4 separate regions of the Homo sapiens genome follow, and regions 1, 2 and 4 are each linked to region 3. Evidence: promoter capture Hi-C in 16 types of primary human blood cells and fetal thymus (Javierre and others, 2016). All regions are on one chromosome and are shown on one strand. The core of a region is centred on a gene start or on the middle of the fragment in contact, and the rest is flanking DNA. Distances in the headings are between cores, read along the strand shown.

Region 1 (2,744 bases), core at 190-2,689, 400 kb after region 3:
CAGAAGTTCGAGACCAGTCTGGCCAACATGGTGAAACCCCATCTTTACTAAAAATATGAAAATTAGCCAGGCATGGTGGTGTGTTCCTGTAGTCCCAGCTACTCGGGAGGCTGAGCAGGAGAATCGCTGGAACCTGGCAGGCAGAACTTGCAGTGAGCTGAGATCGTGCCACTGCACTCCAGCCTAGGCGACAGAGTGAGACTCCGTCTCAAACAACAACAACAACAAAAGCTCCTCGATGGAACCATTTGATAGTGACAAGGATTGAAGTAAGTATCTGAAGAGGCTACTTAGAAACTCAGAATTGGTTACAGGAAGTGACTGCCCACTTTCCATGTGTTCTTCAGATGCTCTGGTTATTCTAACAGCCTAGTTAACCACCCAGACTTTGGTTCTCATTGCCTTTATCCATTTGTTTGGTGTATATACTAATGTTCAACGATGCACACATAATGCATGTGATGTTTTTTGGATACCGTCTTATCACTTGTAGAATTGCCATGATAGGCATTTTTTGGAGCTACTTTAAGTACTTGCTGGCCTAGTAATTATGCAAGTAAGTAATTAAGTGTTTATTCATATGTGAAAGCCCAATGTAAGCATTATTTATGTCTTTCAGTGAAGTGTGGTGTGCCTTTCATTTTTCTGAGTGGTCTTTATTTTATGGAATATTAAATGGATCTTTGAATAAACTCAAGAGGGTAGATTATAAAAGGAAGAACTGTTAAATTAGTCAAAAACAACTTTATAACACAATTAGCTGCATAAGCCAGTGCGTGCGTAAGCAGGTAGTATAAATGCTTAGGTTGAGATACTAAAATTATTATTAGAGAAAATTACAGGAAGTACCTATGCTCCCACTATGTTTTGTTACTTGGTTAATTTTTCTCCTCTGAACTTCTGGCAGGTTTACTGGGGAATTTTCCATTAGGAATATTCTGGTCCTTAAGTTTCATTTTGAATGTATAATATAATCATGCAGATTACGAACCCACAATCTAAAATCAAGGCATTCTTTTTTAAAGTTTCAGATGAGGCTGGGTGTGGGGCTCATGCCTGTAATCCCAACACTTTGGGAGGCCGAGGCGGGTGGATCATGAGGTCGAGAGATCGATACCATCCTGGCCAGCATGGTGAAACCTCCCCGTCTCTACTAAAAATACAAAAATTAGCCGAGCGTGGTGGCGCGCACCTGTAGTCCTAGCTACTCGGGAGGCTGAGGCAAGAGAATTGCTTGAATCCAGGAGGCAGATGTTGCAGTGAGCCAAGATCGTGCCGCTGCACTCCAGTCTGGCGATAGAGCGAGACTCTGTCTCAAAAAAAAAAAAAAAGTTTCAGGTGTATTCAGGAGTGGTCATATTAAGCTTGTCACCTGATCCTGGTTATGAGGTTAACAGCAAAATGAAATAAAATATTTTTCTGAGCCATTTGTTTCTCCTCTCATGGAAGACACTAATTCTGTTTATTTCTATATTCGGCCTTGTGTTGAAACAGACTGTAAAATCATGTTTTAAAAAAGCTTCACCCATCCTTGTGGAGGGTGGTGGTTTGCAAAAGCACCACCCCACTTAAGCATTTATATTGAGAAGATATTTATGGCATTCTTCCATTCATGAAAATGGGTATGCTTTGTTCTGGAGTTCTTACCTTGATTTATCTACTAACACTAAAGTTCCTCACTTCCAATTTCTTATACCTCTAACCCAACAGCTTATAAACTGCATGTAGTATAGTATTTGCTTGAAATATGTGAAAGTAGTTATTTTCCCTAACTAATAGGGATATTTCTGTGGTGGTTGTAGTTACTTTGCAACCTGTTCAGCAAATATTATAGGGCGTTTTTGATGGTATCTTTAAATTTTGGACATAGAGAACCATCTTGGATAACCTCTTTCCCCCCAGTCTCAGTCATCCCTTTGGAGGTAGTGTCTCATTTTTAATCTGTGACTTGTGGAAGTTAAGGCATTTGAGTAGCTTATTTAAAGTATTAATAATCTGATTTCTGGAGATCTGAGGAATAGCAGACACCCTTTTCTGTATTAAATTGGGGAAATTTATTTTATAGGCAAAAAGATGAATAAAATGGTCCTAGTAGACAGCCCCTAATATTTCTGGTCTCGGGTAAAGGTCTTAAGGAAGAGGGAAGGTAGTATCAGAATTTTCCAGGGTGTTTTTTTTTTGTTGTTTGTTTGTTTGTTTGTTTTGGGTGGACAGGAAGTAGAATTTATTGGTGAGTATTAAGAGGGGGCAGCACAGTGGAAGCCCTCATGAGTGCAGGGCCCGCCACTTGTCCACAGGGCCACGATTGGAAATGTACTTGACCCGACAGCCATCTGGGATGAGCCGCTTCTCAGTCACCATGTCTTCAAACTCATTGGCATTGAACTTGGTGAAGCCCCACTTCTTTGAGATGTGGATCTTCTGGCGGCCAGAAAACTTGAACTTGGCCCTGCGCAGGGCCTCAATCACATGCTCCTTGTTCTGCAGCTTGGTGTGAATGGAGATGATAACTTGGCCAGTGTGAACCCTGGCCACAGTGCCCTGGGGCTTCCCAAAGGCACCTCGCATGCCTGTTTGGAACCTACACTGGGGTAGTGCAAGGTCAGAAACATGAACATCCATCTGAAAGGACTGTCTCCAGGGTCCCTTAGAGCAACCCATACAATACAACACACAGGCTGCATACACTACCAAGGAAGCTGCTGTTTGCAGCCATTGCACACTGGGCCCCCCCATGAGGAAAG
Region 2 (2,803 bases), core at 54-2,553, 500 kb after region 3:
AGTCTTGTATAGTCACTCAATGATAACTCACTGAGAGTGGCCCTTTAGGGTTCTAGTCTGTGGCCACAGAATGCTGTTGGTTAACTGGTTTTTAATAAATTCATAACTTTATCCTTGTCTGTACCCAGCTTTAAATCAACCAGCTAAGCTAACTAAACAAAGTGAGTGCTATGTGAGATTTTAAAACTTTGTTGGTTGTTGTTTTGTTGCTTTTTTTCTAAAAAAGAAGATAACATTTTGGTCAGAGTGCATGTAGAAAGTGAATGATACAGTAGTTGAAAGCTTGGGCTTTGGAGTAGGAGTCCTGAGTATATACCCTTATTCAGCAGCTTCTATCTGTGTAACTCTGGGTAAATAAAACTTCCCTTGGTCCTAATTTCATCCTCTGTAAAATGTGAACAATAATAGTAACTACCCAAAAAGAGTTATGGTAAGGTTAAATCAGGCAGTAGATGAACTTTGGTAAGCACTTAGCTTGGTGTATAGTTACTGCTCAGTGGTAAACATTACAATTATTAAATTATTTAATAATGGAATTTGTATCAAAAATTTTGTTACTTTCATATAAGCAGTGTATTTATAATTATGTCTTTTTTTCCTATGAAGGAGGAAGTTTCTATTGAAGTTTTAAAGACATACATACAGGTAAACTTTGAGAACCTACAACCTGATTGTTTTTTACTATTTTAATGAAAACAAAACTCAGAATGATGCTATTTTAATTCTCAGTGGTAAGAAAGCATCAGAATCCATAAGAGATCTTTTAATTATCAGCACAGTTGACCTTTGAATAATGCAGGGATTAGGAAAACAACCCCCACCGCCCCGCACAATCAAAAATTCACTATAACTTTTGACTCCCCAAAAACCTAACTACTGATACCCTACTGCTGACCAGAAATCATACCAATAACATAAACACACAATTAACACATTTTGTATATTACATGTATCATATGCAGTCATCCCTCAGTATACTTGGGGGATTGGCTCCAGGACCCCCACATATAACAAAATCTGTGTATACTCATGTCCCACAGTTGGCCCTGCAGAACCTGCATATACGAAAAATTGGCCTTCCATATTTGCAGATTTCACATCCAGATAACACTGTATTTTCTAAGTTGAGTTGAAAAAAATTTATGCAGAAGTGGACCTGCACAGTTCAATCCCGTGTTGTTCAAAGCTCAACTGTACTGTATTCTTATGATAATGTAAGTTAGAGAAAAGAAAACATTACTAAGAAAATCATAAGGGGCTCGGCGAGGTGGCTCATACCGGTAATCCCAACACTTTGGGAGGCAGAGGCGAGAGGACTGCTTGAGTCCAGACGTTTGAGATCAGCCTGGGCAACATAGGGAGACCCTTCTCTCTACTACAAAAAATTTTTTTAAATTAGCAGGGCACAGTGGTTCATATCTGTAAACCCAGCTACTCGGGAGGCTGAGGCAGGAAGATCGAGTGAGCCCAGGAGTTGGAGGTTGCAGTGAGCTGTGATCTCGCCACTGCCCTCCAGCTGGGTGACAGAGTGAGACCATCTCAAAAAAAAAAAAAAAAAACAATCAGGCCAGACGTGGTGGCTTGCGCCTGTAATCCCAGCACTTTGGGAAACAGAGGTGGGTGGATCGCTTGAGCCCAGGAGTTCAAGACTAGCCTGGGAAACAGCGAAAACCTGTCTTTTTTTTTTTTTTTTTTTTGAGACGGAGTCTTGCGCTGTCACCCGGGCTGGAGTGCAGTGGCACCATCTCGGCTTACTGCAGCCTCCGCCTCCCAGGTTCAAGCGGTTCTCCTGCCTCAGCCTCCCGAGTAGCTGGGATTAAAGGTGCTGGCTAATTGTCTGTATTTTTAGTAGAGATGGGGTTTTGCTATGTTGGCCAGGCTGATCTTTAACGCCTGACCTCATGATCCACCCCCCTCAGTCTCCCAAAGAGCTGGGATTACAGGCGTGAACCACGACACCCGGCCTGGACCTGTCTTTTTTTTTTTTTTTAAGTTTAAAAATTAATAAATAACTTTTAAAAGTTAAAAAAAGAATAAATAATAAAAATCATAAGGAAGAGAAACTACGTTTATAGTACTATACTGTACCTGTTAATACTGTAAGTTTATGTTGTCTGTTTACAAGATGAATTGTCTATTTGAAATGGACAACCACAGTTACAGACCTCAATCTACAGTATATCAAGCAATTCACCTTTTTCTTGTAATCTCATGACTTTTCTCTGCTTCTTGGGAGAACTTCCAGTATCACTACTGGCACTTTGTATGGCTCCTGTGGTGTTATTAAGGGTTTATAGTATTGCACTAAAAAAAACAAGACCTGGGAAAGCTTACTTTTTATTGCAGTATGCAACTGAAGAGACCAACAGCTCTTCAGAGATGATTAGCATCACACGGCATTTTAAATGGATACTCACAGCACTTGAGCTCACCCCAGTAGTGGCAGGAAGTGGCTCTAAAGTTATTACAGTAGTATAGTATCTACTACAGTTAGTTGTATGCAGTTATGATTTAATACTGCATCTGTATGCTTGTTTACATTTCTCTAGACCACAATGTATGGTCTGTAAATGTGTGTACGTTTTGATAAATTTTAACTTTTTATAATAGATTCATATATATTTTATAGTAGTAAGTGATAAAATAGACCAGAATCTACATATAATGGATTTATGACATACCTTTTTTTTTATTTTTTATTTTTTTTTTTGAGATGGAGTCTCACTTTGATGCCCGGGCTGGAGTGTAGTGGCATGATCTTGGCTCACTGCCACTGCAGCCTCTGCCTCACCGGGGTCAAGCG
Region 3 (2,840 bases), core at 283-2,782:
CTCAGTGTTTTTGTTTTGTTTTGTTTTGTTTTGTTTTGTTTTGTTTTGTTTTGTTTTCTGCACTGGTCTTTATTGCTGTGGAATTTTTCATAGAAATGTGATCACTTTTACCTTCTTAATTAATTCTCCACTGCTTGCTATGACAGTGACCATACTGAGGCATCAAATAATTTAGGTACCAAAGAAGGCATGTCTATCCCTTTTTAAGTTTTTTACTGAGATTATGCCTTAAAAGGGGCACAAATATTTTTTTAAAAACATAAGTAAATAAGAAAAAGGGCATCAGTTAGTTATTATTGTTATGGGAAAGAAGGAAGGAAGGAAAGAGAGAGAGAAAGAAAGAAAAGGAAGTAAAGAAAGAAGGAAGGAAGGAAAAGAAAGAAAGAGAGAGGGAGGGAAGGAGGGTGGAGGAAGAGAAAGGGGAGAGGGAGGGAGGGAGAGGGAAGGAAGGGAGGGAGGGAGGGAAGAAGGGAGAGAGGGAGAGAGGGAGGAAGGGAGAGAAAGAGAGACTTAGAATAGTGTTTGGCACAAAGTTGGTACTCAAGAAATATTAAATGGATGAATGGATTACTTGGGAATCACATAATGAGAGAATGATTTTAAAGTATTTATTTGAAAACCATGTCATGTTACTTTAGCTCTCTTCAGTGTGTTTTATGAGCCATTCTTTAAGAAATAATAAATAGCAGCATTCTGAGTAATGTACAGTTATTTAATGCTATTTCCCTGGTGATGACCTCTCCATTTGGACTACAAGCCAACAATTACAAAGCTCGTTTTACTCACCCTTTGGTGTGAGACAGATTCTTACATGCTGACTTCTAAACAGGTTTCTAGGATCAAATGCACAGTATTTGTTGTGTATACTTACACAGTGGCTCAATTTCTGCCTAAGGCTATGAAAGTCCTCCACAAAGCGTATTTTCTTGCAGCCTTGCAATTGCAGTTGACCAAAAACGTCTTCCATGAAGAAGGACAGAAGCTGTTCTTGAAATTGACAGTTTTTCTAAAAATAAGATACAAGAAATTGCATATGGTAAATTATGAATCGTTTTTTAATGTCCCCCGATCATTACTTAATTACTCTCTGAAAAAAATTTAAATGCAGGGGGAAATAAACATCAAATAAGTGGAAATGTAAAAAAGAAGAAGACTTTCTGACTTACCATAAACTGCTTTTTTGTTTTCTTTTTTAATAATCGTATATTTTTTATGCGGTCTTCCTACAATAATACAAAGAGAAATAAGTTGTATCCAAGATTGTAAATGTCCTTGAGGTCATGATTTTAAGCAGAGCCTAATACTTACTGGAATCGTTGCTTTGAGCCATGCTGCTTTGATATAGAGAGCGTCAACAGCTTGGGACAATGTTCCCCTTGGGTAACAACTTTTGGTGAAGGAAGATTGCTTGTGCTTGGCAATGGCAAGAGACAGAGTGACTAACAGCAACCCACACCTCAAAATGAAATTCACCAGCATTTCCCTTCACCCCACTCAGCGTGTGTCACTCACAGCAGCCCAAGAGATACTAATGCCGGTTAGATGAGAGGATAACCTACTTAATGTAGCCCTCAAAGCCACCAGTCCAATGAGGTGCTGTGAAAGATAATTTACAGTTTATATAGAGGAAGATCACTTTGGTTGTTCTATTTTTTTAAGAGCTTGCTTCATAGTCAAAAAACGCTGATCACACCATCAACTGACATTATTTAAAAGCTCAGCCTTACTGGTAAGATTGCGTTCTCATTTCCAAAAGAATTCAGAATTTCAGTTGCCTATCACAGCAGCTTGCATTATTTTAAAAGGCATGCCAATAAAAACAGGATGATTTCCAGGGGGCTGTGTCATAATTTTTTAAACCCCATGTGAAAAATCTCCTTTTCTAACCAGAATCCCAGAAAAAATTTAACAAGGGGGTAGAAATGGGCAGCCCCAGGAAATCTGCTCACGATTCAAATGGGTCTTGTGTTTATTGCTTGCCACATCCTTCACCCAGCTTCCCCCAGAGGCCATTATTCTGCAGATAGCAGCGAGAACATTTCCAGTGCAGAAACAGTAACTCCCCTTAACATATTCAAGATATGTTTGGAACTGGACCTGGGACTAAGGTCCACAATGTAATAAGTTCTCTGTCATCTCTGTCCAAATTTACCACTCAGACTTTCCTTATAACTCCCAACTTCCAGGAGAGTGCAAATTCCTTGAAGAAAGAGACCGTATATTTTCACCTTTGAATACAGCATCTACCATGGCACCTCATCTAAAGAAGTGCATCCATTATTAATTGAGTAAATACTTTTGTCACATCATGACGTGCTACCATAACTGCTTTATTTTTTAAATTTCTTCCATTCACACATTTTTATTAAAGACTTGCCTACACAAAAACCAGTGCTAGGTATGAGGGAGCCACCAAGGAGGATTCTCCATAAACTCCCATCCTCATTTCTGTCCCAGTTCTTCCTAGACAGTAAATATGGCTCATTCTGGGTAGCAGCCCCAATATAAGAAGAGGGCAGCCCAGAGTCATATTCTGAGAAGCAGAGATAGGTCACTAAAGCCTAGAATGAATAGAGTTAATGTGTATCAGGGATAAGTCAACACTAGAAATCTGGTTGTGAGTTAAGAGAGTCATCAAAACTAGTCAGTCAATAACAAGCATCAGAACCCAAGACTAAATTCCAAATGAAAGCAAGCAGGGCTGTCAAAAAAACAAAAAAAAAACAAAAAAAAAACAAAAAAAAAACAACCAAGAAGAAAAAGGGAAAATAAGAAAAATGCTTGGACTGATGTCTGCTGTTTCAAAACATGAGTGGATCTCTTGGAAGAATCCAAGCCTT
Region 4 (2,700 bases), core at 13-2,512, 420 kb after region 3:
CTGGAGTGCAGTGGTGCGATCTGGGCTCACTGCAACCTCCACCTCCTGGGTTCAAGCAGTTCTCCTGCCTCAGCCTTCCGAGTAAGTAGGATTACAGGCATGTGCCACCACACCCGGCTAATTTTGTATTTTTAGTAGAGGCTTTGCCATGTTGGCCAGGCTGGTCTTGAACTTCTGACCAGCCTGGTCCAGCTGGTCCAGTGATCCAACCGCCTCGGCCTCCCAAAGTGCTGGGATTACAGGCGTGAGCCACCACGCCTGGCCTGAAATTTATCTTTTGTTGACGAGTATGTGCAAGGTGTTGTGTCAGTGACTCTGAAGAATTACTACATTTCTTTCCTTATTCTTTCTTTAATTTATTGATCACATATTTCAGGCACAGTTTCAGGTTCTGGGAATATGGCAGTGAGTAAAACAAAAAAAATCCCTATCCTCATGGAGTTTACATTCTTTGTAATCCATCTCACAACCTTATCATGTAGCTGTTACTATCTTAATTTTACCTGGAAGGAAAGTGAGGCTCTGAAAGGTTTCGTGACTTGCCCAAGATTATAGAAAACCACAATTTGAAACTTAGGTACCATTAGCCACTATGCTGTGCTGTCAAAATTGTCCCCCCATGGGGTTCTGTGAAAGAGAACAATTAGTCTCAATGTCTCAAATAGTAGTTGTCACAAATGTCTTTGAAAATCTGATGTAACTATTCCCATTTTTAATTGTGCATGAAATTTTAGGGAATTGACATATTTCAAAGTGCTCATTCTTAACCTGAGCTAAGGACTTCAGGAAAAGAACACTTGAACAGAAAGGTTATGCCTAAAGATCACAAATACGCTATACAAATAACAGGTGCTACAGCTCTTTCCCAGTCCCTACCAGCACCACAAGCCAATTATGTTGCTTATTGAACAGAGTTGTCTTTTCTGCAAAACTAGATGCAACCACACCATCCTAAAAACAGGATAATGGCTGTTGCCAGTCAGTCAGAGTTGGCATTCGCAATAAAAATCTGTTTTTCAGTCTTTTCAAGGCTGGTGTAGTAGAAAGCACAGATTTGAAAAATACTGATTCAAATCTTGACTATTGTACTGTTGGGTTTTTTTTGTTTTGTTTTGCTGTTTAAGGTAACAGAAATACCCTGATAATATCCCCAAACTGGAAATCAGCTGGTGTGAATGGGTAAAGAAAATATCATGTATTCATGTGGTATATTTTAATCAACAGTAATAAATAAAAGGAGCAAGTTACTGATAGATACAATAATATGGATGAACCTGACTCATTCTAGCAACAAATAATAATGCTCATTCATGGATAAATGAAGCAGCTGGGAAAAAGAGTCCCAGTCACCTCACTAAGAAGTGTAGCTCCCACAGCCAACTCAGCCACCTTTGTGAAATAAGAAAGGCATACGTCTCTTAGAAAAATCACCTCTGATAAATGTATAGTTTTTATATTCAGTATTTTAAAATTGTAGTTTTTATGTTGTTTCGGTCAGTTGTGTTATGTTTGGAGGTTTTAGTGAATATATAGTTATGCAGCCATCACTACAACCAGTTTTTGGTGTGTTTTTTTTTTTGAGATGGAGTGTTGCAGTCTCACCGGGGCTGGAGTGCAGTGGCACGATCTCAGCTTACTGCAACCTCCACTTCTCGGGTTCACTCGATTCTCCTGCCTTAGCCTCCCGAGTAGCTGGGATTACATGTGCCCACCACCATGCCCAGCTAATTTTTGTACTTTTAGTAGAAACGGGGTTTCACCATATTGGCCAGGCTGAACTCCTGACCTTGTGATCCGCCTGCCTCAGCCTCCCAAAGTGCTAGGATTACAGGTGTGGGCCACTGCGCCCGGCCCACTACAACTAGTTTTTAGAACACTTCCATCACCCCCAAAAGGTTTCCTGTGACTATATGTAGTCAGTCCCACTCTCACTCCCAGTGGAGGAAGGGTGGAGAATTGGATGCTCATATTTCCTTTGGAGCAGCAATAATGAACAGATTTGGGGTTATTGTACTTCCATTTGTTAGTGAACATGCAACATCAGTTCCTCCTGTGGCTCTGTTTGTACAAGTAGCCTCATCTGTGGGCTTGCATTTCTTCGAAAACAAAGACCTTTTTATTTAGTTTTTTCTAGTTTGTTTGTAAGACTCTGAAAATCTCAACCATTGTAGATTTTTTCGGATTACCAATTTTCCATTTTAGGTTTCCTATTTCAGACCTGAACCCATATACAAAAAGAAAGGCCATCTCTTTACTTTAACTGTTGGGTCTTTGCCAGAATACTTTTGAAAATTTCCTTAAATCAATTTTTATTTTGTATCCTATTGAATCTTTTTGAGACAGAATCTCACTGTGTTGCCCAGGCTGGACTCCAGTGGTGTGATCTCAGCTCACTGCAACCTCCACCTCCCAGGTTCAAGCGATTCTCATGCCTCGGCTTTGCGAGTAGCTGTGATTACAGGCGTGTACCACCACACCCAGCTAATTTTTGTCTTTTTTTGTAGAAACAGGGTTTTGAAGCCGGGTGTGGTGGCTCACGCCTGTAATCCCAGCACTTTGGGAGGCCGAGGCAGGTGGATCATGAGGTCAAGAGATCGAGACCATCCTGGCCAACATGGTGAAGCCCTGTCCCTGCCCCCCACTCCACTCCCCGCCCCCCCCCCCCCCCCCAAAAAAGGGTTTTGCCATGTTGGCCAGGCT

Evidence for each region. Contacts are between HindIII fragments. The CHiCAGO score rates a contact against its expected background, and 5 or more counts as called.
Region 1: a fragment that was not itself captured here is called in contact with the fragment with the promoter of IL26 in region 3 in 2 of 17 cell types (M1 macrophages and erythroblasts); the score reaches 5.8 in M1 macrophages.
Region 2: a contact is called between a fragment that was not itself captured here and the fragment with the promoter of IL26 in region 3, in 3 of 17 cell types (erythroblasts, M1 macrophages and megakaryocytes). The highest score is 7.0, in erythroblasts.
Region 4: a fragment that was not itself captured here is called in contact with the fragment with the promoter of IL26 in region 3 in 1 of 17 cell types (M1 macrophages); the score reaches 5.1 in M1 macrophages.

Annotation. Positions count from the first base shown.
Region 1 is chr12:68,624,605-68,627,348 of GRCh38, forward strand. All of the region lies in intron 1 of RAP1B (RAP1B, member of RAS oncogene family), which reads left to right. It overlaps SNORA70G (small nucleolar RNA, H/ACA box 70G), which reads right to left; the gene lies at 2,630-2,744. It also overlaps the pseudogene RPL10P12. Among named protein-coding and RNA genes, the nearest start is that of SNORA70G, 1.4 kb to the right of the region's middle. The HindIII fragment of the contact is 155 bases long and covers 1,363-1,517 here.
Region 2 is chr12:68,726,745-68,729,547 of GRCh38, forward strand. NUP107 (nucleoporin 107) reads left to right here. Exons shown (of 28, transcript NM_020401.4): 20 at 607-645. Among named protein-coding and RNA genes, the nearest start is that of SLC35E3, 18 kb to the right of the region's middle. The HindIII fragment of the contact is 2,047 bases long and covers 281-2,327 here.
Region 3 is chr12:68,224,278-68,227,117 of GRCh38, forward strand. IL26 (interleukin 26) reads right to left here and starts at 1,533. Exons shown (of 5, transcript NM_018402.2): 1 at 1,309-1,533; 2 at 1,167-1,223; 3 at 872-1,006. The coding sequence starts at 1,479. The HindIII fragment of the contact is 7,284 bases long and covers 1-2,840 here.
Region 4 is chr12:68,644,735-68,647,434 of GRCh38, forward strand. The region is part of intron 1 of RAP1B (RAP1B, member of RAS oncogene family); the gene reads left to right. Among named protein-coding and RNA genes, the nearest start is that of SNORA70G, 19 kb to the left of the region's middle. The HindIII fragment of the contact is 5,436 bases long and covers 1-2,700 here.